Regions from separate parts of the Homo sapiens genome. Here regions 1, 2, 3, 4, 5 and 7 are each linked to region 6. Evidence: promoter capture Hi-C in 16 types of primary human blood cells and fetal thymus (Javierre and others, 2016). All regions are on one chromosome and are shown on one strand. The core of a region is centred on a gene start or on the middle of the fragment in contact, and the rest is flanking DNA. Distances in the headings are between cores, read along the strand shown. Region 1 holds the start of CHMP4A (charged multivesicular body protein 4A). Region 2 holds the start of ZNF219 (zinc finger protein 219). Region 3 holds the start of TINF2 (TERF1 interacting nuclear factor 2). Region 4 holds the start of CBLN3 (cerebellin 3 precursor). Region 5 holds the start of METTL3 (methyltransferase 3, N6-adenosine-methyltransferase complex catalytic subunit). Region 6 holds the start of RBM23 (RNA binding motif protein 23). Region 7 holds the start of CHD8 (chromodomain helicase DNA binding protein 8).

Region 1 (3,714 bases), core at 336-2,835, 1.3 Mb after region 6:
ATGTGCTAGAGACCTGACTGTGTTATTGCTAATCCCCAAATCTCTACAATGAACGTGCTATCTCTTCACTTTAAAAATGTGAAAACAACCACAAAGATGTTAAAAATCACAACTAATAAGAGATTGTGCAGGAATCAAGATGTGGCAGTATGAGTTCTAAAACCAATATTCTTTTTACTATTCCTAGCTGCCTTTCTTTTTTTTTCTTTAGGCAGAGTTTCAGTCTTGTTGCCCAGGCTGGAACGCAATGGCGTGATCTCAGCTCACCTCAACCTCCGCCTCCTGGGTTCAAGCAATTCTCCTGCCTCAGCCTCCCAAATAGCTGGGATCACAGGCATGTGCCACCATGCCTGGCTAATTTTTTGTGTTTTTAGTACAGACAGGCTTTCTCCATGTTGGTCAGGCTGGTGTCGAACTCCCAACCTCAGGTGATCTGCCCGCCTCGGCCTCCCAAAGTGTTTTGATTACAGGCATGAGCCACCGCGCCAGGACTTCTTTTTTTGAGACAGAGTCTCGCTCTGTTGCCCAGGCCAGAGTGCAGTGGCATGATCTCAGCTCATTGCAACCTCCGTCTCCCGGGTTCAAGTGATTCTCCTGCCTCAGCCTCCCTGAGTAGCTGGGACTACAGGCACACACCATCATGCCCACCTAATTTTTTTTTTTTTTTTTGAGAATGGAGTCTCCCTCTGTCACCAAGGCTGGAGTGCATTGGTGCAATCTTGGCTCACTACAACCTCCGCCTCCTGGGTTCAAGCGATTCACCTGTCTCAGCCTCCCCCAGTAGCTGGGACTACAGGCGCGTGCCACCACAACCAGCTAATTTTTTTTTTTTTTTTGTATTTTTAGTAGAGACAAGGTTTCACCATGTTGTCCAGGCTGGTCTCGAACTCTTGACCTCAGGTGATCCACCCACCTCGGCCTCCCAAAGTGCTGGGATTACAGGCGTGAGCCACCGCGCCCGGCCAATTTTTATATTTTTAGTAGAGACGGGGTTTCACCATATTGGCCAGGCTGATCTCAAACTCCTGACCTCATGATCCACCCACGTCGGCCTCCCAAAGTGTTGCGAGTACAGGCGTGAGCCCCCGCGCCGGGCTAAGAAGGCAGTCTTTCTTCTTCACCTTAGATCCCTCTTGCCCAGCACAAAGTATTATAGAACAAGGTTTTGAAAATGGCTGAAGACAGCAGGAAACTCGTCTTCAAGCCTGAACAGTGGGAGTCAGCACGATCGCCACGCCCTCAACTCAAGTCCCCTCCCAGATCTTGAGTTCTTCCCTCTGAGAGTGGGGGAGGACGGCGGACGGGAACAAGGCGCCCCGACATGGTGTGCCTTTTGGCACCGGCGATGAGCCTTGCTCCGCCATCGGCCGCCGGGGTTTTCCAGTCAGCCTGTCTCCTGATTCTCTTCCCCTGCCCGGCGCAGCGGTCCGGCCGAATCTCGCCGGGGTCTCCTCTTCCCCTGCACCAGCCAGCGCCTCCTGGCTGGCCAGTCCCACCCTGGCTCACCCTTCCCGAAGAGCCTGCCGAGACCACTCATCGCGAGCTCGCCTCTCCCGCCTCCGCCCCTCAGCGTCCTCCAGACTTCCGCCTTGCTCCTGGGAGGGTGATGTCTCATCACACAGGGACCAGCCTTGCCCAATCCGTCCTCAGGGCGCCGCCGCGACATCAAGAGGCGCAAACGAGACCACCGGTGTCACGTGACCCAAGCCACCAGCCCCAGACCGACGCGCTCCTCTTAAAGCTGCCACATCATTTTCTATTAAGTAAAAAGACAGTTCTATCTCCACCTGAGTACGTGCTTGTTCTCCGGAAGGAAATGTGCAGTGTGATGGCACCTCAGTGTATGGGGTCAGTGGGAAAACTTCATGCTCTTTACAGAGCTCAGGAAAGTGGGGTGGTATAGGTTCAAGCACTTGGGGTTGCCCTAAGTTTAGATGGCAAACCTGATGCAGTCTAATGTCTCACATTCTGGTCTCTGCACCTCAGGACAACCAACCCCATTTCACAGGCTAGAAAAATAGAAACTCCCCACACTGTGGGTAAAATCTCTTCTGTCACACACAGATGAACTTTAATAAATTACAAATGCACCTGAAAATGCCTTCTTGATTTCCTTTCAGTTTAGGCCTCAAATGGGCTCTCCTCAAGGCTGGACCTCAAAGGCCCAGTTTGGGCCTTCGCAAATGTCTCTAACCCTTGACTTAGAGTTTGAAGATTCATTCCATTCTGGATGTGAATGCAGGTAACACCTAGAAAGATAAGAAGTCACATTTCATTAAGCTTTCAGGGTTCTCCATTATTACTCTGACCTTTGTGAGTGCCACCTATAGGGCAAACTATCCAACCTGTATGTATCTACCTAATCCCTCCTAGGGACCCCAAATGGCTGTTCCTCATCACTCAGTACCCAGTTTGCTGACGTCTACAATATTCCGCCTCTCATCATCAAAGAAGATCATCTGGGAGAAAGGAATTCCAGTCTTCTGCTGCAACCTATTCAAGACAGGGCAGGAGTAACCAAGCTAGTATCTTGGTTTCCCAGGCCTCTCTGATACTTTCTCACCCTGCTCCTCCCTTATCTCCGCATACCTCTCAAAGTGTGTGATCTTGCTGCCTGGATAGATTTCCCGATGAACAAAGTACCTGAAGAGGTCAAAGAGCTCCAGTAGCTGGTTGGCCCCTTCTATCTCACTTGTCCTGCAAAACGGTGTAAAAGATGGGATTAGCAAAGTGAAGGGCCAGGGCTACGTTAACTTATTAAGCAAAGTTAGTAAGTATAACCAGGGAAATCAACTTGCTGTTTTTCCGGGATGGACAGGCATCCTCAGCCTCTGTTTAACTCCATTGCCTTCCTATTTGACACAATTGGTGCTGGGCCAATGTTTTAGCTTTTGTTTTGAGACAGGGTCTAGCTCTGTTGCCCAGACTGGAGTGCAGCGACCCAATCACGGCTCACTGTGGTCACGACCTCCTGGGCTCAAGTGATCCTCCCACCTCAGCCTCCCAAGTAGCTGGGACTACAGGTGCACGCCACTACAATTTTTTTTTTTTTTTTGGTAGAGATAGGGTCTCCCTCTATTGCCTAGGCTGGTCTCAAATTCCTGGGCTCAAGTGATCCTCCCACCTAGGCCTCCCAAAATGCTAAGATTACAGGTGTGAGTCACTGTGTCTGGCCCCACTTTTTTTTTTTTTTTTTTTTTTGAGACATTGTCTCACTCTGTCACCCAGGCTGAAGTGCAGTGGCTCCATCTCAGCTCACTGCAACCTCCGCCTCCCGGGTTCAAGCGATTCTCCTGCCTCAGCCTCCCGAGTAGCTAGGATTACAGGTGCGTGCCACCACGCCCTGCTAATTTTTGTATTTTTAGTAGAGACGGGGTTTCACCATGTTGATCAGGCTGGTCTTGAACTCCCGATCTCGTGATCCACCCGCCTCGGCCTCCCAAAGTGCTGGGATTACAGACGTGAGCCACCGCGCCCGCCTGCTGGCCCCACTTTTTAATAGTTAAAAGGCACAGGAGAGCGTTCAAGGGAAAAAATATGTAAATACTTGGAAACTTGCACCGCCCCTATTTTTGTAGACCAGGGGTTTCACTGTCTCTTGCATGCACCCTTCAGCATTACACTGTCAGTTGTCAGTCGCTCTTCTTACCTTGAAGCAGCCGCACCGGGCACCCCAAGGCTCTGCAATCGTTTTAGGACCTCAGGCACCTCTGG
Region 2 (3,923 bases), core at 222-2,721, 1.8 Mb before region 6:
TCTGCAGCTCACCAGCCTTTTTAGACTGAGATCTTGGTAAAGCCTCCTTCCCTCTGTCCTCACTCTCCTGAGTTAGGGACATGGAACCTCAGCCATGGACTTCAAAGGTACAGCAGGAGGCGAGAGGAAGGCACACCTGCTCACCTGCTGCCATCCCACCATGGGGAATCTTATCCCAGAGGCATGTCCTAACGCAACCCCGATTTTGATTTTGAAAGTTCTGGAAGACCTGGGTTTGGGAAAGAGGGGCATGTAGCCAGCCCTAAGTCCCTTTAAGTGGAGCTGACCCTAGAAAAGTCAGTCTTAGCACCCACGTGAGCCTCGGTCCTCAGACTGGGAGGTAGGGGCGATCAAGGGAGCCTCTGGGAAAATCCCCCTCCCAGAAATAGATTGCTAAGTAGGGTAGGACCTGCTATCCTGCCGGAGAGGTTTTTCCAGCAGCACCCCAGACCCCTCCCCAGGAAGATAAGCCAGAAGGATGATGGGGGGCAGGGTTGGGAGATAGGGAGGCCAAGGCTCAGCTACCCCCGGCCAGGAGAACAAAAGCTGAGTTACAGCCGCCTCCGCTGCTGCCGCGGGCCGAGCTCTTTGTGACACTTTGTTTGGGACGCAAAGAGGGAAGCACCCCCCATCCTTTCCCCTCCCCCGCCACCCCGTGCTTCCAGAGAGTTTGGGCTCCTTCCCCCTCCCCCACCAGCCCTACCTGGGCCGGGGGTTGGGGGGTGCACATCCACTCAGGCTCGCGGCTCTGCCGCCCCTCACCCCCAGGTCCCTCGCGCCCTGCCTTCGGGCCCCTACAAAGACACCCGCCACCTCCCCCGCCACATCCCCCCCGTTGGCCCTTCCCTTTGGTGTCTGCTCCCCCAGCTCTTCCACCTGGCCCCCCCTCCCTTGGGGCCCCCCAGCTCTCCAGGCTTCCGAGGCCGCCACCCCCACCCCGCCCCCCCAGGAGCTCTGGGCGAAGTTTGCTTGGGGCCGAGCCGGCGCCCCTCCCCCGCCCCCGCCCCCTGCACCTGCTCCGAGCCGGGCGCGCTGAGCGGGCCCCCCCTCCGGGAGGGGGGAGGGGGCCGGGGGCGGGGGCCGGGTGGCGGACGGGGGGGCCCGGGAGTCGGGGGAGCGGCTACTCACGAGCCCCGGGCGGGCGGCGGCGGAGCGGGCGGCGGCGGCGGCGGCGGCGGCGGGCGGCGGGCCGGCGGCGCGGGCGTCAGCGTTACGTGGGGCCGGGGGAGATGCGCCGGGCCCCGGCCCCCCCGCCCCCGGCCCGGCCCCCGCCCCCTCCCCGGTCCCCCGCCCCCGGCCCTGGCCCGCATTGTGTGCGGCGGGAGGCGGCCCGGCCATTAGCATGCGGGGGGCGGCGCGGCGGGGCTGGGAGCCGCGCGGGAGCCGGGCTCTGGCTCCGGGGACAGGGAGCTGGGGACCCCGGGAGCCGCGAGAGGCGGCCGCCAGGGGCGGGGTGCGGGCGGTTTGGAGACGGGGGGCGCTGTCGGAGGGAGGGAGGAAGGGAGGGAGCGGGGGTGGGGCGCACAGAGGATTCCAACAGGAGACTGGAAGAGATTTTGAAAGGTCATCTCGTCCTTCCCCCAGCCTCCAAGCAGCACTGCCCCTCCCTCCCTAAACCCGGACATACCAGGGAAGGAGTTGGCTCTGCCGCTCTTTCTGCCCCAACATGCACAGACTCGGGAAGTTCTTCCTGGGGTTTTATCTCAAAGCCTCTCCCTTACAATTTCTGTCTCTCTTTTGGGGGAGGAGGAGGGGCGATTATAGAGATAGTTAATGTCGGCCGTATAAGAAACATTATTAAAGTTACTCTTCGGTCCTTTCCGTTCTTGATAAACAATTCCTGCGCCTTCCTCTCGAATTCTATTTTCCATTCCTCAAGTCACTTTAATGGCTCTTCAATACAACAAATATTTACTGAGTGCTTACTAAGTGCCAGGCACTGGGCTCAGCGCTGTGAGGGATGAGAAAGAAGTGGTACCTTCCTTCCAGGCGATTGTAGTCTAGACTACAAACTGGTAAGTAGTATACTCAGATTTAGTCAATATTTACTGAATGCCTGTTCACCTATCTAATAGTATATAATCTTTCCAATAACCCTCTATAATTAAATTAGCCCCCATTTACAAGTAAGAAAAATGAGGCTTCAGGAAGTCTGTTTCCCCAGTGGCCTGCAGGCTCGGGGATCCTCAGTGCAAGCCCAACATCTCACATCGCCACCAAATAAAATCAATGCACGTGGGAATTGAGGAGGAGTAGACACACAGCAGTTTTCTGGATCTCTTTAAAACGTGACTCCCACTCCCCGGGAAAGAAAAGAGTAGATACAATGACCCGCCGATGTTGGCACAGCACTGATGGGGCAGGAGTGGCTTACAAAAGATCACTTGCCTCCCAGGACCCTGCCTCCCTCCTCGTACTAACTTCTAGAGTCTTCTGGCGCAGTCTCCTCTTATCGTCAACAACAAGAAATAATAATAGTGATGATGATCATAGCCACTAACATTGAGCACTTGTGTACCAGGTACTGGGCTAAGCTCTCTTCCATGCTGAAAGCAACCCCTTGAGACTGGTATTATTAACTTCCTTTTATAGATAAGGGAACAGAGAGATTAAGCAACTTGCCAAGGGCACCTAGGTAGATCTGGGATTTGTTTTGATCTATAGAGTATATTTGGGCCCAGCTGGTTCTGCTTCCGACTGTAGAAATGTGTCCCCAGCTTCCTTCTGAATAACACTTTTAGTGTATGGGCATCAGACTTATCGGTGTGACCTCATCAGCACCACTAATAGTTATTAAACACCCACCCTGAATCAACAACTCTTCACAGTCATATTGTTAGCCCCCTTTTATCAGTGAATAAACTGAGGTGCGAATAGGTAGAAAAACATATCTATCAGGACAGACACAGTGGCCCACACCTGTAATCCCAGCAGTTTGGGAGGCCAAGCAGGGAGGATGGCTTGAGCCCAGGAGTTTGAGACCAGCTTAGGCAACATTGTGAGACGACCCTGTCTCTACAAAAAATTTAAAAATTAGCCAGGCATGGTGGCATGTGCCTGTGATCCCAGCTACTTGGGAGACTGAGGCAGGATGATTATTTGTGCCCAGAAGGTGTTGGCTACAGTGAGCCATGATCATGCCACTGCACTCCAGCCTGGGTGACAGTGAGCCCCTGTCTCAATAATATAATAATAATAATAATAATAATGTATCCAAGATCACACAGATGGAGAAGCAGCAGAGCTAAGATTCCAGCTCAGGTCTGTCTGGCTATGAGGCACCTTCTCTCTCAAAAATATTAATTGTTGCAATAGCATCCTTCCCAAGACTCACTATTTGAGGACCATGAGATAGATAGATAGATAGATAGATAATGTCCAGTTGCAGGTTATCATTGAATCAAAAACAATCCCCACCATAAACAGGGTCCCCCCCATCCATTGAGTCAGTGTTCAGTTCAGAGTAAAACCTTCAAGAAAGAAGGAAGGGAGACTGTCCAGAAAGTGAGAGGCAAGAAAGCCCCTGGAATTCAACCTTACCTGGTCTGGGGGCAAAGCTGCAAGTAGTAATGACAGGGGACCAATCCAGACAGAAAGTAGGATCTCTAGGGAAGGGCACATAATTTGAGGAGGAAGCCAAAGAAAGGAGTAAGATCATATGGAAATGAGGGGGAATTGAGGTCCAGAGTGATAGTGTCCATGGGGATGAGGTAAGTGAAACCAGAAAAGGAACCCAGGATGGGCAGAAATGAGGGTAATGAGAAATGGGAACAGAGTGAGGTCGGGCTAGACATCTTGTGGAGTGAACTGAGGCCGGTATCTACCCAGGGCCACTCCCTAGATCCTTAGGCCTTCATAGAAACCTTTGCCCCACCACACCCCATCCCTGACAGCCTTCCTCTGCCAGGACAAGTTTGTCGTCT
Region 3 (3,521 bases), core at 1-2,500, 1.3 Mb after region 6:
TAATCCTGGCCATTTGGGAGGCCGAGGTGGGCGGATCACTTGAGGTCAGGAGTTCGAGACCAGCCTGGCCAACATGGTGAAACCCCATCTCTACTAAAATACAAAAATTAGCTGGGCATTTGTAATCCCAGCTACTCGGGAGGCTGAGGCAGGAGAATCGCTTGAACCCGGGAGGCAGAGGTTGCAGTGAGCCGAGATTGTGCCACTGCACTCCAGCCTGGGCGACAGAGCAAGATTCCTCAAAAAAAAAAAAAAATGGGTTAGAGAAAATAGCCACATAATAGCCTTCAAACCAGTCTCACCTGCAGCTTCGAGGCCAAATCCACAGGAGCCTCTGACAGCTGCTTCACCTGCTGGTAAAAAGTTTCCTGTGCCTCCAAAATCTTCCTCAGATCCTGCTTTGTCTGTTGAGGATACAGAAGACAGAGAAGTTAGCACCAACATCCAGTAGACAGGAGGAGCAACTTTGCTGCACCAAGTGTAACTGGGGTCAGGGCTTGTTCCGGGGATTACTCACAGCCTTGGGATCCCGCACTATAGGTCCAGATTCTGGAAAGTGGTGATTCAGGGCTTTCAGGACTTGGGCCCAAGGCCGGCCCTGCAGGATCAGCTCCACCACCACCTGTACGGTACTGAATTCAGAATCCCCACTTCGGGGCAAGCTGACCTTTTCCAACTAGTCTCATCCCCAAGCTGTGGGCCCTTGTCAGGTGCTCGCATCCCGCCCCTTTCTTTCTTTCCCCTTCCAGGTCCTACTTGCTCCAATACCTTGGCCTTTAGGCCCATACAAAGGCGTTCGTGGTGCCGGTAGCGAACCAAGCCAGGGGCAACAGCGCGCAGAGATCGCAGAAACTCCAGTACTCGCGGAAAATGTTCCACGCAGCGTCCGCGCACAACCTGCCAGCTAGCCGCGGCGGCGAAGCGTAGAGCTGCGGGACCCGCCACCAGGGGCGTAGCCATGGTCGGCGGGCTCCGCCCGGAGGCGGTCCCTCCGGGTTCCTCACCCGGATGGGTGAGGCTTTCCGATCACTCCTAGGGGCGGGGCTTCTGGCAACTCCCTGTCGCTCCGGTCTGTCGGCTCTGGGTACCTCGCGATCTGACTCGGCTCCCTTCCATCGGCCCCCAGAATTCTGGGGGAGGGGGTCTTCTGGCTCGGGCTGGAGGAGCCTGAGTGGAGAAGCTGACCGTCTCCAGTGGCACTGGGTCGCTCAGCTTTAAACGTCGCCGCTGTCTCGAGCCCGAGGGTGCCTCACTTCCGGCTCCGCTACTAGCTTCCCTTGCCCCGGAAAAGGGCGGTAAGAGGGAGCCAATGGGCGGCCACAGAGGGAACCGTGACGGTGCGTCAGAAGGCCACGCCCCAGCGGAGCTGTAGCTGCCCGCTTCCTGCACTCTCTGCCGGCTGACATGAGTTGGCGGCTGAGGCTGTCGTGGCCGCTGAGGCTGTTGTGGCCGTTCGTCTGGGTCCTCCCAGCCTTGCTTTCTTCGCGGAGCCTGCGGAGAAGCCCCGTCACTCCCGTGAGGCTCGACTTCCTAGTCTGTAAAACGAGGATCATGCCACCGCCCTTTCCCACTGTCTTCACCCATCGAAATTTAGTTCTTTAAATTCCAGACCCGAGCCGGCGTCTACAAAGCCTTCCCCTCTGCGCGCGTCGCTTCCAGTAGGAATTCGACTGTTCCTTTTATAAAACAGAAGAGGGCGCCCGCCCTTAAAAAATAAAATACAGGCTGGGCGTGGTGGCTTGTGTCTAATCCCAGCGCTTTGAGAGGCCGAGGCAGGAGGGTCACTTGAGCCCAGGAGCTCCAGACAAGCCTGGGCGACATGGTGAAACCCCTTCTCTGCTAAAAGTACAAAAATTAGCTGGGCGTGGTGGCAGGCGCCTGTAATCCCAGCTACTCGGGAGGCCGAGGCAGGAGAATCGCTTGAACCCAGTAGACGGGAGGTGGCAGTGAGCCGCGATCTTGCCTCTGCATTCCAGCCTGGGCGACAGAGGGAGAATCTCTCTCAAAGAAAAAAAAAAAAAAAAAAAGAGGAAGAAGAAGAAATAGAATACAGGCTGGGGGCACGGTGACTCACACCTGTAATCCCAGCACTCTGAGAGGCCGAGAGGGGAGGATCGATCCGCTTGAGCCCAGGAGTTCCAGACCAGACTGGATCACATGGCGATAACCTGTCTCTACTGAAAATCAAAAAAACTAGCCGGGCGTAGTGGCACGCCTGTAGTCCCAGCTACTCAGGAGGCTGAGTTGGGAGGATTGTTTGAGCCAGGGAGGTTGAGGCTTCAGTGACTGCACTCCAGCCTGAGTGATAGAGTGAGACGGGGTCTCACACACACACACAAATTAGTTTCTTGTTTTAGGATTCTGTTGTGCACTGAACTTGTCAGCCCCCTAATGTAATTGACTGCTCTCCTTGACTGTCTCTTCCACAGGCTTCCTGGTGCCTCTCATTTCCATCAGCAAGCACAGAACCTAACACACAGCTTACACTCCTTAATTGTTGGCTGGATTAGTTGCCTGCCTTGACCACCTTACAAGGATTTAGTGAAACTGCTCCGTCTTTAGCCCATGTCTTCCATTCCCAGAGATAATGGTTCACACATCCTTGTCTCCGCCCCGGATCAGTCTCAGCTGATCCGCACATTCGACTGCCCAAGAAACACCCAGTCCCAAAGTACCCCAAATTGGATATGTGTGAAATTCTAGTTATCTTCCTTTTTCCCTTTATTTATTCCTTCTCTAATGTTCTTTCTTTCTTATGTAGATATGAACTTCTGTTGTTTTACTTTTTTTTTTTTTTGAGACGGAGTCTCGCTCTGTCGCCCAGGCTGAAGTGCAGTGGCGCGATCTCAGCTCACTGCAAGCTCCGCCTCCTGGGTTCACGCCATTCTCCTGCCTCAGCCTCCCGAGTAGCTGGGACTACAGGCGCCCACCACCGCGCCCGGCTTTTTTGTATTTTTAGTAGAGACGGGGTTTCACCGTGGTCTGGATCTCCTGACCTCGTGATCCGCTCGCCTCGGCCTCCCAAAGTGCTGGGATTACAAGGCGTGAGCCACCGCGCTCGGCTCTTTTTTTTTTTTTGAGGTGGGGAGACAGTCTCGCTCTGTTGCTCAGGGTGGAGTGCAGTGATCTTGGCTCACTGCAACCTCTGCCTCCTGGGCTTAAGTGATCCTCCTGCCTCAGCCTCCAAAGTAACTGGGGCTACAGGCATGCACCACCATGCCTGGCTCATTTTTTTCTATTTTTTGTAGAGACAAGTCTTTGTTGCCCAGGCTGGTCTCGAATTCCTGGACTCAAGCGATCTTCCCACCTCGGCTTCCGAAAGTGTTGGGATCGCAGGCGTGAGCCACTGCACGCAGTCCCTGGCTAATTTTTTAAAAAATCTTTTTTGGTGGGTGTGGTGGCTCATGCCTGTAATCCCAGAACTTTGGGAGGCTGAAGTGGGAGGATCACTTGAGGCCAGGAGTTTGAGACCAGCCTGGGCAATACAGTGAGACCCTGACTCTACAAAAAAAAAAAAAAAG
Region 4 (4,002 bases), core at 1,503-4,002, 1.5 Mb after region 6:
GCAGTCAGAGTGTGGAGGGACTAAAGTTCAAACTTCAAAGGTGGAGCAGTTTCAGGAGGTGGCCAAGCAAGAGGATGCATGGTTATCGATGTTTTCCATGGTCCACTTCCAGCTCTGTATACCTGCTCTCAGCTCTGCTCTCAGCCAGAGCAAACACACTCACCCTAATCTCAGGTGGGGAGGTAAGGGCCAGAGTCCATCTGGGATCCAGCATAGAAGGACAGCCAGGATTGCTACCTGCTGGCTGCTCTGCTATACATGCAGAATGTGTACCATGTTCAGTCTAGACAATACACCCTCCTTCCTTCCTCACCAGCCACAGACTCCAGGCCCTTCCCACCCTTCTGCCTGTGGCTGAGCCTCCCACCCTAGCCCATACGGTGCTGGTTCAGCTTCTGACGGTGCTGGCTGAGATCCGTGATGCTGGCTTTCCTCACAGGAAGAAGCCTGCAGGGTACGCTGAGGCTTGTCCATCTGGGCTCCTGTGGGGGCCTGTCAGGCTCACCTGCGCCACCTGTCCCTGATCAGCATTGAGCAGGAAGCTGGGGTGGGGGAACCGGAGGAGCAGAGGCCGCAAAGTAGTGCAGATCTTCCTTCTTGCCAAACCTTGCCCTGATCCTAGGGCTGCAGGCAGGAACAGATGCAGCAGGTGGCTGGGAGGGTAACTGGGGGTGGGTGGGTGGAAAGGCCTGGTCTGGAGATGCCACAGCTCTACTCTTCTCTTAAACTTGGGTGTTTGGCACAGGGTCCCATGCAAAGAGGTGGGATAGGAGCCAGAGGGAGTCTCTCTCCTGCCTCTGCTGTTTCTGGGGCAAGAGAGGGCAGAAGAAAGTTGTCAGGGGCTGGATTCTTGTGCTTGAAAGACTTGGGTCCTCAGAGAGGGAAGATGAGGAAGCCAGAGAAACTTGAGTATTTCCAACCACCCAGTAGATTCCCCCGACGCAGGCGCAGAGACACTCGGTCCCCAGGGTCCAAGGGCAGTAGCACAGAGCTGGTGGCTGCCTCCCGGGTCACGTCAGGATCATTGGCAAAGGCTGAGATGACAGGCCACGTGTTCAGCATCAGGCTCACCTGGGGAGGGGAGCCCAGTTAGCCCCCATTCCCCAGCCCTTAGCTCAGGACCCCCCACTTTCCCAGGAGCTTCCTCTTGGGAAGCTGGGTTTTAATGGGCTCTCCCGGGAGGGCTGAGGGGCGGCCAGCATTGGACTCTGCACATCCTCCACACTCAATGCAAGGCAGGCCCATTCCTCCCCTGGTCCTGGCCTCCAGGACACAGGTCAATGGAGAGTCCACCCGGAGGTCAGCTGGGCTCCCCTTCTTCCCCCTCCCCACCCTCCTGAGCCGGGGATGGGGGCCAGTGCTGAGGTCACCTGGACAGTTTGGCGGTTGTACACCTTCACCACATGGAACCGGAAGCTGTAGACACCCCGGACAGGGGCTACGAAGGAGCCAGAGGCCCGGTCAAAGCCACCGCCCTCGTTCACCAGGACCTGGGGGAAGCAGAGCCTGCTGAGTGGGGCTCAGGAAATGCCCATGGCTCAGGGGTACCATGGGGACTAGGGGCAGGGGCAGTGAGTAATGAATAGAAGGAGTGGCAAGTAGGAGTGAATAGGAGTGAACAGATTCAAAAGAAATGGTGAGAAGGGGCAAGGAGAGGGCTGCGTATGGGTGGAGGGAGGGGAAACCGTCGGTGGGGTGGTGGGGCAATAGGCCAGATTAGTGAAAGATGTAGGAAGCTGTTTTCTTAAAGCCTCAGAGACAGCAAAGTGGGCTTGGACAGTTGCTTCCAGGTCCTTGCAGGGTCTTTCCAGGTCCCCTGGACAGGGGTAGGGGGATTACCTGGTCGAAGTAGATGGCCCCACTGGTGCCATTGCCGGTTTCCCCTGCTGGCTCATGGTGGTGGCTTCGGACCGCAGCAAATGCCACTCGCCCAGGGGGTGCCTCTCCCAGGGCTGCTCCCCCGGGCCCCCCTGCAGCAGCTCGGCCAGGCTCACAGACCACCAGGCACTCCCCCTCCAGCAGGACGGGCTCTGACCCCTCCTGGGCCCACCCGGCCCCCAGGGCCAGAAGCACCAGAACCAAGGGCAGCCCGGGACTGTGTAGGGGACCTGGTAGCCAGTGTGGCTTGGCTCCCAACATGGCTGAGGGGCTCTGCAACCCACAAGTGCCCCGGTCTTCTGCCCCTCTTCTGTTTCCGCTCCTCTCCCTGGATTCTCACCGCCGGCACCCTGATCGTCTGCCCTCTCTAGGCTCGCTGAACCCCCTCTCCATACCTGTGTCCCAGCTCTGTCCTGCCTCCCACTCTTACTCCTGCTGTCACTGCAGTTCCCTCCTCCTTGGCAGAGCATGCAGTGACAGCAGTTGGGCTTTGGGAGAGAAAGGAGGGATGAAGCCGCCTGCCCACTGGACGGGAGGGCTGCAGCCAGAGCTTCAGGGCAGCCCTGCTGGATGGGACAGCACTGAGGGCTGGACCTGGGGGGATGGAGAACATGGTATGTGTGTGTGACGGGTGTGACAGAATGTGTGAGTGTGTGCATATGCCAGAGGCAGCCCCTCAACCCCTTCCTCCTACTCTTCCTCTCTTCAAAATCCCCCACAAATCAACAGCCCTTCTTCGTGGCATCTTTCCGTTTGTTGGAAGAAAGGGGTACTCCACCACGGGTACCCTCCGCCTCCCGCCTCCCGCCTACCCCCTCCGCCACGATTGCTTTGGTGGAAAGTGCTTGGGCCTAGAGCACCAGTGGGCCAGTCACGCTGCCTCTTTGGTCGGCCACATCTTTATTCGCGGGAAACAACTTTCAACGCATGGTTCCCCTTTCCGAGAAGTAACTGCGCAGAATGCGCGAGGACCCTGAGGGCCGGGAGACAGACGGGAGGGCTGGTGAGAAGCGCAAGGGGCGAGCCCTGGAGCCGCCGAGGGGACTAGGCCGAGCGGGCCCGTCGGGGCCTCTGGGCGCGGCGGCGGGGTTGGGAGGAGGGCGCGCAGCCGGGAGGAGCTGGGCTGACTCCGCCCCAGGCCAGGAAGTGACTCAAGAAACAGTTTGCGTGCGATGTGGACAAGAGAGGTCCCCGCTGGGTGAGGAACCCGGGAAGGCCCGCCCAGATTCGGGCCCCCTGCCCTTGTCCCCTGGGCTGGGGGCGCGGGCAAAGCGGGGGCCTGGCGGGCGCTGAGAGGACCTGAAGCCGGCGCGGGCGGCGGAGGCGGTAGGCGCGCCCCTCCACCGCGCCCGGGAGCGGGGAGCGGGGGCCGCGGTGCGGAGTAGGCCCGGCCCGGGGTGGCTGCCCCAGTCCGCGGTGGGCGGGCCCGGCCCGGCCCGGCCCCTGGGCCCTGGGCGGTGCTCCTGGCCCGACGGAGAGGGGCAGCGGACGGCTGGGGGAGGGGTGGGAGTGGCTTGAACCTTGGAAATGGCAGACCAGGGCCCCCAGAGGACAGCCTAGTTCAATCCCCTGCTGAGGATTCGTCCTTAAGAAGCTTCAGAGTGCCCCAGGAGACTCCTTCTGGCCTCCAGGCCGAGCTGGAGCCCCCCCACCCTTCTTGCTCCGGACTGTGGTCATCCTTTTCCAAAGCCCAGACGCCCACTCTCGATAGACAGCCTTGTTTACCGGGACTTCCTCTCCGGAGAGGCCTGCGTGACATACACCCTCCCTACCTCCAGTGGACTCAGATGCTTGTCACCTCCTGGGGCTGTTTACCAGAGCCTTAACTAGGTGCGACCTGTTGATAGCTGGTGTAGTCCCAGGAACCAGGATTTGGATGGAGGGTACAATGAGGCTCTGAGCTGCCTTCTCCCCTTCCAGGGCTGGGGGCAGCAGCCATGCCTACCTGGGGGGCCCGCCCCGCGTCCCCAGATCGCTTTGCGGTGTCTGCGGAGGCTGAGAACAAGGTTCGGGAACAGCAGCCCCATGTGGAGCGCATCTTCAGCGTGGGGGTGAGCGTCCTTCCGAAGGACTGTCCGGACAACCCCCACATCTGGCTGCAGCTGGAGGGCCCCAAGGAAAACG
Region 5 (3,565 bases), core at 272-2,771, 1.4 Mb before region 6:
AATCAATGAAGTTTCTAGAGCAAGGGAAAAAAAATTCTCCCTCTTAGGTAATTCAGGAACTACTCTGAGACTTGACTACTAATTATTGCCTGACCATATGACTTGCACTTCTTACTCCACTATCCTCCCCTCTTACCTCTTTAATTATCTAGGTCCTATATAGCCATAAAGGCCAAATTCAAGTGCCAATTCCACTATGATGGTTTTGATGGCTTCACTACCTACACCAGCTCTTGTTACTTCTCTTCATTGTACAGACTGTAGATTCATTCATTTGGTTTCGTACATATATCTTATCATATTCCTCACTTTTTGTAAGCGTCTCCCCTTGAATCCTATGCTTTTTAAACTTCTTGAGGACAGGGGCAATTTCTTCCTTATTTTTGTCTAATTAGACCCATGAACACTGTAGATACTCAAGAAAGGTAATTAATTAGGTGGGAGGATCCTGCCAGTGCATCTTCTATTTCTAGGGGCCAGAATACGAGCACATGAACCTAACATGATCTAGACAAGATTTAGAGATGCAGTTGAAGATACTGACAAATATTGGAACAATCTACCACAAAGGTGATACTGAGTCACTATTTTTGCAGAGCTTTGTTACTAGTTTGCCTTAAATAATTCAGAGTTTGTCCTGAGGGTAGGGAGTGGATAACAGTGAATTTAATCTTTTAAATTTCCTTCAAGTTTTATGATCGTGACACGGGGGCAACAGGAGAAGAGAAAAAGTTTGGAAACCAAACACAAATGTTTTCAGATTCCTGCTAGGTATGTAAATGGCTAAGTCAATGCCGGTAGGGGTACTCATTCAGAAACACCCAGTGCCACTCTGTACGGGCCACTAAATTGGGCACTGCGGATATAAAGGTTCATTCCTCGCTTACTGTACCCACAGCTGCCAAGAAATGACCACTACAAAACAGTCGTTATAACTGAGGGAACAAAGCGCCAAAGCAGCAACAAAAAGGGGTTCTTGCTGCTTCGCGGGATAGGGGGCTGAGCAGCCTCACAAAGGCGACGTCCTCGCAGTCTGAAGAGGAGTGGGCAAGGCGGACGAGGGTGGGGCTCAAGCGTCCGTCCGGTAAAAGTGAGCTGGAAGAACCGAGGCCCAGCGTGAGGAGGAACCGCGAACTACTTGCAGAAGGGCGAACGTCTGCTGCTGAAGGTGGAGAGGGAGTACCAATGTACGAGGCTTTATAGAAATGGCCGTTTGGTAAAGGGCAGTGACTCTGGAGCTTTTTCTCTAGGGATCCCGCCCGTCCTCCCCGGTTGAGCCTCGGCCCCAACAGCCCAGTGCCTCACCCAAGTGCCCCGAGTCCTGCTTCCGCCTCCGCTGCAGCCTCTCCCGCAGAGAGTCCAGCTGCTTCTTGTGGGCCTGGATAGAGCTCCACGTGTCCGACATCCTAGTCTCCCAGCCCTGACACCTCTCGAATAAGGCGCGGCGGACTAGCACCTCCCAGCACTCGCTCCAGGATATAGCCAATTCTCACGCGGACACCCCGAAGGCTAACCGGAAAATGACCCCTGGAGCTGAGCAAGACAGAAAAGTCATTTCCGGTGTCGCGCTTTCTTGGAAGCTATAAAGAGCCACGTTAGGTGTTGGCAGAGCGGCCGGTATAGTCCTCATACCCGCTCTCTCATGCTTCCGGACACAGTGAGGCTGTGGTTGCCATGTTGGTGACTGGCAGAGCGGCCATGTTGCTTATAGACGCGCATGCGGCCATGTTGAATATTCGGAGAGGAGTCCTGAGAGTTGACTTGTGTTAAAGTAGCACTCGTAGAGAGCAACACCATATAGTACAGTTTTGGGGGTTTTTTTCTTTTTTTTTTTTTTGAGACGGAGTTTCACTCTGTCGCCCTGGCTGGAGTGCAATGGCGCGATCTCGGCTCACAGCAACCTCCACCTCCCGGGTTCAAGTGATTATCCTGCCGCAGCCTCCCGAGTAGCTGGTATTACAGGCGCCCGCCACCACGCCCGGCAGATTTTTTGTATTTTTAGTAGAGACGGGGTTTCACTGTGTTGGCCAGGCCAGTCTCGAACTCCTCACCTCGTGATCCGCCCTCCTTGGCCTCCCAAAGTGCTAGGATTACAGGCGTGAGCCACCACACCCGGCCATAGTACAGATTTTTAAGATGAAGGATCACTAGTTCCTTTTGACAGTTTGGTACTAACATACCTTTTCCACTGAAGGTGGTGTTGGTTTGTTTCCATGCGTTCATTTACAAAAAAATAAAAAACACAACGGTGGTCCCCAATCTGAGGTGAGGAGGGGGCGGTGGTGGGTGCGGGCATGCTTCTTTGTGTTGACGAGGCGTGGGGAAGTGGGGAGGGCTGATGAAGGAAAAATCCGAGAGGTCTTCAAATACGTGATCTCTCTCTTAGGCTAAATTTACAAAGTACGTGTAATCTATTAAAATCGGGTTCCGACACTAAGAGGGCTTTGAGGTCCTGGTTGCGTTGTGTTTTTTGTTATGAGAGCTACCTGCATGAGTGTGTTCAGTTTGTGAAATGTAATTGAGCTGAACATTTTGGTGTGCACTTTTCTGTATGTGTAGTAAACTTAAATACAAGGTTGGTGGTGGTGGTTTTTCCTACAATCCTTTCTTTCTTTCTTTTTTTGACACATTTTCTTTTTTTTTTTTTTTTGAGATGGAGTCTCACTCACTCTGTCACCCAGGCTGGAGTGCAATGGCGTGGTCTCAGCTCACTGCAACCTCCGCCTCCTGGGTTCAAGCGATTCTCCTGCCTCAGCCTCCCGAATAGCTGGGATTACAGGCGCGTGCCACCACACCTGGCTAATTTTTTTTATTTTTAGTAGAGACAGGGTTTCACTATGTTGGCCAGGCTGGTCTCGAACTCCTGACCTCGTGATCTGCCCCTACGATCTGCCCCCCTGCCTCAGCCTCCCAAAGTGCTGGGATTACAGGCGTGAGCCACCGAGCCTGGCCTGACACAGAGTTTCATTCTTACTGCCCAGGCTGGTGTGCAGTGGTGTGATCTCAGCTCACTGCAACCTCCACCTCCTGGATTCTAGCTGCCTCAGCCTACCTAGTAGCAGGTATTACAGGGACCTGCCACCATGCCCAGTTAATTTTGTATTTTTAATAGAGATGGGGTTTCACCATGTTGGCCAGGCTGGTCTTGAACTCCTGACCTTAGCTCATCAGCCTGCCTTGGCTTTCCAACGTGCTGGGGTTACAGGCATGAGCCACCGGCTTGGCCTTTTGTTTGTTTGTTTGTTTTGTTTTTTTAATGGAGCTCCCTGAATGGAAACATTTCGGGAATCACTGACTTATCCAATGTCTACATGATGCCATACGCTGTTGTCCAAAAAATACAAAAAATAGTTTGACTGGCATGGCTCCTGTTTTCAAAGAGTTTATAATCTGGTCAAGGAGCTGTGAGCCAGTTTATTAATACTGAACCATCTTCACAGCATGAGGTAGCATGGGCATAGACTTTTTAAAAAACAAAAACAAAACAAAACAAAAAAACAGGAAAAAAAAAAACGTGATTTCAAAGAAGAGGAGGACTCCAAGTTTAATGACCCAGGAAGGCATT
Region 6 (3,806 bases), core at 959-3,458:
TCACTGCGACCTCCACCTCCCAGGTTCAAGCAATTCTCCTGTCTCAGTCTCCCAAGTAGCTGGGATTACAGGCAGGCACCACCACACCTGGCTAATGTTGTATTTTTAGCAGAGACGGGGTTTCTCCACATTGGTCAGGCTGGTCTCGAACTCCTGACCTCAGGTGATCCGCCTGCCTGGTCCTCCCAAAGGGCTGGGATTACAGACATGAGCCACCGAGCCCGGCCTAAAAAGAAAAGTTTTTTATACTCAAGCTGTTTCAGTCATTTTTGCTGCCAAGTCTACACAAATTTTCTGTTATGAACTATTTTTTACAATCTGCTTTTTCCCCTCCAAATGAAATGCTTGATTTCAAGAACTGCTCATTGTTGAGTGCTAATGCGGGGTAAGAACAACTTAACACACACACTAAAACTTACACTTAAGTTTACAAGCCTCTACAAATAAACCTCTACGTAAAAAGTTTTCACTCAGAAACAAATATATCCGTTTAAGCAAAGCCATATACAACACAATATTTTGAAACTTGCAATCTCACTGGGTTTAGTGTCTTTCTAGATGTGCTAAAAGCAATAAGGTAGCAAACACTATGCATTTTCAGGCTGGTAGTTTTTTCTTTTTTCTTCTTTTTTGTTTTTTTTTTGTATTTTTAGTAGAGACGGGGTTTCGCCGTGTTAGCCAGGATGGTCGCGATCTCCTGACCTCGTGATCCGCCCGCCTCGGCCACCCAAAGTGCTGGGATTACAGGCGTGAGCCACTGCACCCGGCCCAGGTTGGTAGTTTTCAAACGCTCTCTTCATGTCCCAACTTATGGGTCAAGGTCCACTCAATCTCATCCACATAGAGTATGTTTTCTTCCATCCTGCTCCAAAAACAGTATTAGAGACCCACAATCACGTCAGTTCCTAGACCTCGTCATAGCACAAGCCAACAGATAGACCCCACTGCTAAAGGAGCAGAGAGAACCACTGTCAGACCAATTCGGGAAGAATTCACGAAAAGCTGGAGCCCCAGGGGTGATGGTAGCGCCATCCCCAGGGTCTGATCACTTAGCTGGGCACAAACACCTACAAACTGAAGGCAGCTTAACAAAAGAGGAACAATGAGAACGATAAAAGCTACTTGAAGGACCACCCTCCCCATGTTGTGTAGCTTTAAAAAATGGTCCTATAGGCCGGGCGCGGTGGCTCACGCCTGTAATCCCAGCACTTTGGGAGGCCGAGGCGGGTGGATCACCTGAGGTCAGGAGTTCGAGGTCAGCCTGGCTAACATGGCAAAACCCCATCTCTATTAAAAATACAAAAATTAGCCGGGCGTTGTGGCAGGCGCCTGTAATCCCAGCTACTCGGGAGGCTGAGGCAGGGGAATCGCTAGAACCCGGGAGACAGGATGCAGTGAGCCGAGATCGCGCCACTCCACTCCAGCCTGGGTGACAAAGCGACACTCCGCCTTAAAAAAATAAAAAAAAAGAGGTCCTATAGGCAACCAACTGGCACAATCTCTGCGGGAGCCAGTGTCCCAGGGCTCAATCTTCATATGTGGCATCATAATACGCCTACTGGAATGAGTGCTTGAAAAAGTTAAATGGGAAAAGCCCATAAAGGTCAACATAGTGAACATGAATCTTCGACAGACTAGAGATTGAGGAAGAAAGCTCAATTCCCTTCTCTCTCTCTGAATGGTGGTGCGAGTGGCTGAAACTGATGATGCGTGTCCTCTCAGGCCGCGGAGGGTCGATGCTCCCTCTCCAGTGTGGGCGACCCTAAGTGTCACGGCTGCAGAGACCCGGAAAGAAAAATCACAGGATTCTAGAAACCGCATCTTTATCGGTGCAAGATACAGCCACGAGGGTGCCCAACTCTAAAATCGTGGCAGTGGGCTACATTTAAGTAGCTAACACTTCCAGGTCAAAACAAACAAAGGTTTTTTTAATGTTAAAAGTTCGCCTGAATCTCTTCGTGACGCCATTTTCTGCCCGTGACGTCAGGGGGGAGGCGCCGTGCAGCAACGTCACGCATTGGTGACGTCTGGTGGGGACCGGGTTTTGGGGTTTCTCACCAGTTCCGGGTCCCCGCAGGGGGGTCCCGGTTCTCTCCGTTCCTTTGAGTATGTTGTGGGGAGTGGAGCTCGGATAGTTCCTAGAGTCTAGGCAAGAAAAGCAGCACTGCAGGTACAGAGCCTCCTCTTCCCGCAAAATGGCGGCAGCTCTGCCGTCTTCCAGAACCTTCCCCAATCTGCGCATGCGCCAAGACTCCCCGGCTTTGGAAATAACCTCACTGGTTTCGCGGCAACCGTCCAAAGTACAGGTTCTCATTGGCTAAAGTCCTAAGTATGGGTGGAGCAAACTCAAATGCGTCTTAGCAACCACCGAGTTCCCATTGATTGGCTAACCTCAGAGACTCCAGAAAATGGAAGCGTCCTTTGGTAGCCGCCCATCACTCTCTCATTGGTTAAATGACTTGCGGAGGGCGGGGAAAACGGGACTGAAAACGGGAGTGAAGAAGCCACCAACCCCACTCCTGGTGCTCGCGTAGACTAGACCAGTGCGATGGGCGGAGCCAACGAGGAGGCACAATTTACATCCTTGGCCGTCCCTACTCGGATTTGCTGAAGGAGTCACGTCGGTCGTTAAGGTTAAGCTTTGTAGAGAACAGCGGCGTTTGTTTAACGTCCGGGGATGCTGAACTCGAAATCCCCGTTCTGAGCCGGCTACCTAAACAACCTTCCCGACCACCTCTCCTGACCTCGGTGCTTGGGACCAGGGAAAAGCAGATCTTGCCACAGACTTGTCTTGGCCCACACTCTGCCCTATCGTCATGGCCTGCTCCCACAGGTCATAACTTCCGTTCAAATCAGTACCCCCACATTTCCCACTGCAAGGGTAAATTTGAAAGTTTCTCAGGTGACTCCTTGGATGTAGCAGTACTGAGTCCTCTAACCGGAAAGAAGGAACTGATGTCCACCCTCACTTTCCAGGGGCCTCCAGGAGCCCCTAGACACTTCTGTGGTCTACTGTAGCTACCAAAAATGTAGCTGGTTATAACATGGGGAGAGCCAGAGTCGGAGGACCTGACTTCCAATTCTGACTTGGATACTAATATCACATCATTGTACCCATTTCAAACTCCCCCTCTGTAAAATGGAAAATTGGACTAGATGATCTCTTAGGACTTCAAACTGTAACCCTGTGGTTTTATTCAAAAAAAACAGGTAGCTTCTTGCTGGAGATTCCTGGATGGATTCCAGTCTTCCCAAGAGGTAACAAAGGAGAGGTAACCAGTTGCCCGTGCAGTAGCTCAAGAATACAGAAGAGAAACTGGCTTCACTCACTATTCCATCTTTTTCCAAGGTGGCAAACTCTATGCCTCCTCCCCAGAGAAAAGCCTAACTGTAGGTTCTAATGGACAAGAGCTCACTGTAGCTGGTCAGAAAGGCCTATATCCAGGACTACAATAGTCATTGCTCAGCTTCCTAAGTAGGGAATACAACTAGGCCCCTTTGGGTCTTGGATAGGCTAAGAGGACAGATCTGAACATGCCTGGGTCTAAGTGAGGTGTGGGAAAATAGTGGCAGGGGGCAGCATGGTCGTGCAGTAAAGGGCTATAACTTTATTTGTATTTCCTCTTACACAAAACCATCAAAACAAGAACAGAAAAAGGCTGAAAATCCGTTCAAACCCCATGTTCTCAGGGATATTCCAGGGAGTTCTTGAGGCTGAGTGCGTAGCTTCAAATCCAGCACTAATTCCTCACCCCCTGGCCTGAGGTCTTCATAGATTGGTGGCTTGAGCCCTGCAATTAATTATA
Region 7 (3,504 bases), core at 626-3,125, 1.5 Mb before region 6:
CAGGACAGATCAAACATGGAGAATACAAAAACTGTTCAAGTACTCATACACTGTTCCATTATATCCCTTATCCCAATCCATTACTCCTTTGCTATCCTCTGGCTGTGTCGCCCAGGCCGGAATGCAGGGGCACGATCTTGGCTCACTGCAATCTCCACCTCCAGGGTTCAAGCGATTTTCATGCCTTGGCCTCCCATGTAGCTGGGACTACAGGCACGCGTCACCATGCCCGGCTAATTTTTTTTTGTATTTTTTGTACTTTTAGAGACGGGGTTTCACCATGTTGGTCAGGCTGGTCTCGAACTCCTGACTTCAAGTGATCCGTCCGCCTCCACCTCCCAAAGTGCTGAGATTACAAGCGTGAGCCACTATTTCAGTTTTAAACTTTCTCCTAAGCCTGTCTCTTCAAACTTGCCTACTCTCTCTTTGGCCAATATCTTTCACTTGCCTTCAGATCCACTGACACGCCTCTCTTGCAGCAGAAGGTCTTCTTACATGGAAAATGTTTTTCTTATCATAACTCTTTTTTTAAGGGTTGGGATAATTCCAAAGTACTTGAAATAAGTTTCTCATATCTTGCTCTATGAGGTTGACTAGAATTTGTTCTGAAACCTATTGGATGACCAATACAAAAGAAATTCCTAAGCAGAAGACACGATCTAATTAACTAACACAGGACACGATTCAAATCACAAACTCACTTTCGATATGTAATGTGCCCCACACCAGATGACTTCAGCATATGCTAACCTAGGCTGAGAATCCTTGACTGAGTCGACAAACTCAGAAAAGCATGGAGATGAAACGATCTGTAGACGCCGCTGTGATGGTAGGATGCAGCAGACACTGATAAGGCAGCTCCCCTGGCTTGTGTTTGGGGCGCTCCGCTGTTTATTCTTTAATAGAAAAAGACAGAGTTCTAAATCTTTGACTTCTGGCTCACTTTGCTTAGCCATACGAAAGAGATGGGTCCACTATATACCTTTTCTGTGAAGACCCTAACCGCTTCAAGACTGTCCCTTAAAAAGCAAGAGGCTGCTGCATTTATACAGCTGCTGCAGGGAAATTCCCTGCGACACTAGAGACAGGTAAATAAACTGCATTCGTTCCAAAGCAGGGGGAAGGGTCTTCTATCAGTGACGAGTTTACATAATGCAACGGAAAACCAGTGAGCTCTGCAGACCTGTCAAGGAGGATGCAAGGCTTGAGCTCCTCTCTTCCCACCATCTCTAAACATTCTCCAACAGCCTGCTCTTCACTGCCAGGAGACCCACAGAACTTACACCTGAGAATGAGTAACAATCTGCTTACGCTTACCCCATGCTTTCCTACCCACCTTTATTATTAAAATACAGAAGAAAAAAAAATAAAAAGAAGTAGAAAACCCTAACCACCTATTTCTGAATCCAAAGTATGGAGTAACCAAACGGGGCCGAGGAGTTTTCCCTTCTCTGAAGAGAGGAGAACAAGGCGCCGCCTCCAATCTACACTACGCCCAGTAATGCAATGACAAGCCCTGAAAACTCCACAGCGTCCCAAGCAGTCCCTCGCGGCTCGGCCCGGCTCGGACCCCGCGGCCCGGCAGCCACCCTCTCCCCCGGCCTCTCACAAAGGAGACTGGTTCAGTCCGGAGCATCACCCCGCACCTGATCCCTCACAACTGGGGGGCGAGCAGGGGGTGGAAGAGAGAGGAGAAGGAGTTACTTAAATCAAATCTCTGAGAGCCTCAGCTTTTGCTGACTCCTGGCCCAGCACTGAGGAGCGGGTGCGAGCGGGAAGCCTACCTGTGCAAGTCCTGGTACTTCCTTTCCAGGCAGCGTTTCAACTCACCCTCTCCGAGAACAAGGCGCCTTCCGGCGGAGCATGGCCAGCCCTCGCCTCAATCTAGCTTGCTAGTAGTCCATTCTCCCTAGGCTCCGCCCCCCTGCGCTCCCATCCGCCAATGGCAGCACCGAAGCCCGGCCTCTTCCAGCGAGCTAGTGTGAGCGCCATCCAGGAAGTCTCTTGAGGGTGGAAGGTCCTAGGAGGATGAGAAGGGTACGTAGGCGACCACAAATATGCCTGATTGAAAATAAAATCTGGCGGCGGCTCGCCTCTGACGACTCAGTTCACAGGCGGCCAGGCCCCTCGGCATCTTTTTTTGACCCCCGCCATTGGGGGCGCTGTGAACTAAAACAACACTTAGTTACCTACTTCTGGGAAGCCATCTTGGCTCGGACTCCGGGACTGGGTGAGAGTGCTTAAAGAATGTGAAGACCCTGTCGGTGTTCTGTCCGACTATCTAGGTCCAGCCCGAACATACTCTGCTGTATACACTTAGGAGGCCCCTCAGTCACGACGTGAAACCCTGGAGTAATGCCGTATGTGGTTACGGGCAACAACCACCACCACCCTCTCACTTAACTGTAGGAGTAAAGCAATTTTAACAAATCAAATAAGCAAAAATTAATTCTTCTAATGAGAGTGAAAGTTGCACTTTCCTAGGGTAATCCTTTATGGACACCTCACTCAAAATATCAGGACATGTATCTATTATAGGTGCTACTAAGCTTTAGGATTCACTGCAAATTTTCCAGTAGGGGCACTGTGAATCAGTTGGAAATCAAGAACAGGACTTAAGGAGGAATTCCTTTTTTTTTTTAAAGGCCTAATTTTTTTTTTTTTTTTTGAGATGGAGTCTCGCTCGGTCACCCAGGCTGGAGTGCAGTGGGGCGATCTCGGCTCACTGCAACCTCTGCCTCCCGGGTTCAAGCAATTCTCCTGTCTCAGCTTCCTGAGTAGCTGAGACTACAGGCTCCCGCCACCACGCCCAGCTAATTTTTGTATTTTTAGTAGAGACGGGGTTTCGCCATGTTGGTCAGGCTGGTTTCGAACTCCAGACCTCAAGTGATCCGCCCACCTCGGCCTCCCAAAGTGCTGGGATTACAGACATGAGCCACCATTCCTGGCCAAGAAATCTTTTTTAAAGTTGTGAGTGAGGGAATCCTTCCAGATTATTAAAGGAATTTCTCAAGGAGTAACATAATTGCATGGTCTTACATGATAGGAGCTCAGAGACATCAAGAAGTCATATGAGTGATAAGACTCGGCCTTAAGCTGGGCGCAGTGGCTCACGCCTGTAATCCCAGCACTTTGGGAGGCTGAGGCGGGTGGATCGCCTGAGGTCAGGAGTTCGAGAGCAGCCTGGCCAACATAGTGAAACCCCGTCTCTAGTAAAGATACAAAAAAAAATTAGCCGGGCGTGGTGGCAGACACCCATAATCCCAGCTACTCGGGAGGCTGAGGCAGGAGAATCGCTTGAACCCAGGAGGCGGAGGTTGTGGTGAGCCAAGATCTCACCACTGCACTCCAGCCTGGGCAACAAGAGCGAAATTCCATCTCAAAAAAAAAAAAAAAAAAAAAAAAAAAAAAAAAAAGACTTGGCCAAATACATTTCCCTGTGTATCAAAATCTGTCAGCCAAGACAGGCGCGGTAGCTCACGCCTGTAATCCCAGCACTTTGGG

Evidence for each region. Contacts are between HindIII fragments. The CHiCAGO score rates a contact against its expected background, and 5 or more counts as called.
Region 1: the fragment with the promoter of CHMP4A here is called in contact with the fragment with the promoter of RBM23 in region 6 in 6 of 17 cell types (total B cells, monocytes, non-activated CD4 T cells and 3 more); the score reaches 10.0 in total B cells.
Region 2: the fragment with the promoter of ZNF219 here is called in contact with the fragment with the promoter of RBM23 in region 6 in 3 of 17 cell types (fetal thymus, naive CD8 T cells and M0 macrophages); the score reaches 7.4 in fetal thymus.
Region 3: the fragment with the promoter of TINF2 here is called in contact with the fragment with the promoter of RBM23 in region 6 in 2 of 17 cell types (total B cells and non-activated CD4 T cells); the score reaches 5.5 in total B cells.
Region 4: a contact is called between the fragment with the promoter of CBLN3 here and the fragment with the promoter of RBM23 in region 6, in 2 of 17 cell types (monocytes and erythroblasts). The highest score is 5.6, in monocytes.
Region 5: a contact is called between the fragment with the promoter of METTL3 here and the fragment with the promoter of RBM23 in region 6, in 5 of 17 cell types (activated CD4 T cells, total CD8 T cells, non-activated CD4 T cells and 2 more). The highest score is 13.3, in activated CD4 T cells.
Region 7: the fragment with the promoter of CHD8 here is called in contact with the fragment with the promoter of RBM23 in region 6 in 4 of 17 cell types (naive CD8 T cells, total CD4 T cells, non-activated CD4 T cells and 1 more); the score reaches 12.3 in naive CD8 T cells.

Annotation. Positions count from the first base shown.
Region 1 is chr14:24,211,903-24,215,616 of GRCh38, forward strand. CHMP4A (charged multivesicular body protein 4A) reads right to left here and starts at 1,586. Exons shown (of 6, transcript NM_014169.5): 1 at 1,507-1,586. The coding sequence starts at 1,537. NEDD8-MDP1 (NEDD8-MDP1 readthrough) reads right to left here. Exons shown (of 7, transcript NM_001199823.3): 4 at 3,650-3,714; 5 at 2,590-2,697; 6 at 2,408-2,493; 7 at 2,041-2,249. The coding sequence ends at 2,122. MDP1 (magnesium dependent phosphatase 1) reads right to left here. Exons shown (of 6, transcript NM_138476.4): 3 at 3,650-3,714; 4 at 2,590-2,697; 5 at 2,408-2,493; 6 at 2,041-2,249. The coding sequence ends at 2,122. RefSeq lists enhancers at 995-1,114, 1,069-1,877, 1,305-1,804, 1,441-1,735, 2,890-3,628. The HindIII fragment of the contact is 5,751 bases long and covers 1-2,278 here.
Region 2 is chr14:21,097,184-21,101,106 of GRCh38, forward strand. It overlaps ZNF219 (zinc finger protein 219), which reads right to left and starts at 1,472. Exons shown (of 5, transcript NM_016423.3): 1 at 1,129-1,472. TMEM253 (transmembrane protein 253) reads left to right here and starts at 3,883. Exons shown (of 7, transcript NM_001395467.1): 1 at 3,883-3,923. RefSeq lists enhancers at 1-394, 1,154-1,654. The HindIII fragment of the contact is 7,101 bases long and covers 1-3,923 here.
Region 3 is chr14:24,241,373-24,244,893 of GRCh38, forward strand. TINF2 (TERF1 interacting nuclear factor 2) reads right to left here and starts at 1,251. Exons shown (of 9, transcript NM_001099274.3): 1 at 769-1,251; 2 at 518-622; 3 at 303-404. The coding sequence starts at 960. RefSeq lists enhancers at 1-19, 680-899, 970-1,229, 1,400-1,699 and a silencer at 1,891-2,185. The HindIII fragment of the contact is 13,864 bases long and covers 1-3,521 here.
Region 4 is chr14:24,426,916-24,430,917 of GRCh38, forward strand. CBLN3 (cerebellin 3 precursor) reads right to left here and starts at 2,753. Exons shown (of 3, transcript NM_001039771.3): 1 at 1,840-2,753; 2 at 1,371-1,490; 3 at 1-1,071. The coding sequence starts at 2,139. The coding sequence ends at 874. KHNYN (KH and NYN domain containing) reads left to right here and starts at 3,039. Exons shown (of 8, transcript NM_015299.3): 1 at 3,039-3,204; 2 at 3,799-4,002. The coding sequence starts at 3,816. RefSeq lists a silencer at 2,876-3,415 and enhancers at 3,446-3,625, 3,770-4,002. The HindIII fragment of the contact is 4,979 bases long and covers 1-3,470 here.
Region 5 is chr14:21,509,819-21,513,383 of GRCh38, forward strand. It overlaps METTL3 (methyltransferase 3, N6-adenosine-methyltransferase complex catalytic subunit), which reads right to left and starts at 1,522. Exons shown (of 11, transcript NM_019852.5): 1 at 1,306-1,522. The coding sequence starts at 1,405. RefSeq lists an enhancer at 1,565-1,804. The HindIII fragment of the contact is 13,792 bases long and covers 1-3,565 here.
Region 6 is chr14:22,916,941-22,920,746 of GRCh38, forward strand. It overlaps RBM23 (RNA binding motif protein 23), which reads right to left and starts at 2,209. Exons shown (of 14, transcript NM_001077351.2): 1 at 2,059-2,209. PRMT5-AS1 (PRMT5 antisense RNA 1) reads left to right here and starts at 2,516. Exons shown (of 2, transcript NR_120600.1): 1 at 2,516-3,806. It overlaps PRMT5 (protein arginine methyltransferase 5), which reads right to left. Exons shown (of 17, transcript NM_006109.5): 17 at 3,589-3,806. RefSeq lists enhancers at 261-1,025, 1,514-1,683, 1,754-1,863, 1,954-2,023 and a silencer at 2,284-2,583. The HindIII fragment of the contact is 7,114 bases long and covers 1-2,637 here.
Region 7 is chr14:21,454,248-21,457,751 of GRCh38, forward strand. CHD8 (chromodomain helicase DNA binding protein 8) reads right to left here and starts at 1,876. Exons shown (of 38, transcript NM_001170629.2): 1 at 1,785-1,876. It overlaps LOC124903283 (a long non-coding RNA gene), which reads left to right and starts at 2,150. Exons shown (of 2, transcript XR_007064064.1): 1 at 2,150-2,230. RefSeq lists enhancers at 1,619-2,308, 2,173-2,724, 2,339-2,388, 2,399-2,448, 2,725-3,276. The HindIII fragment of the contact is 18,756 bases long and covers 1-2,547 here.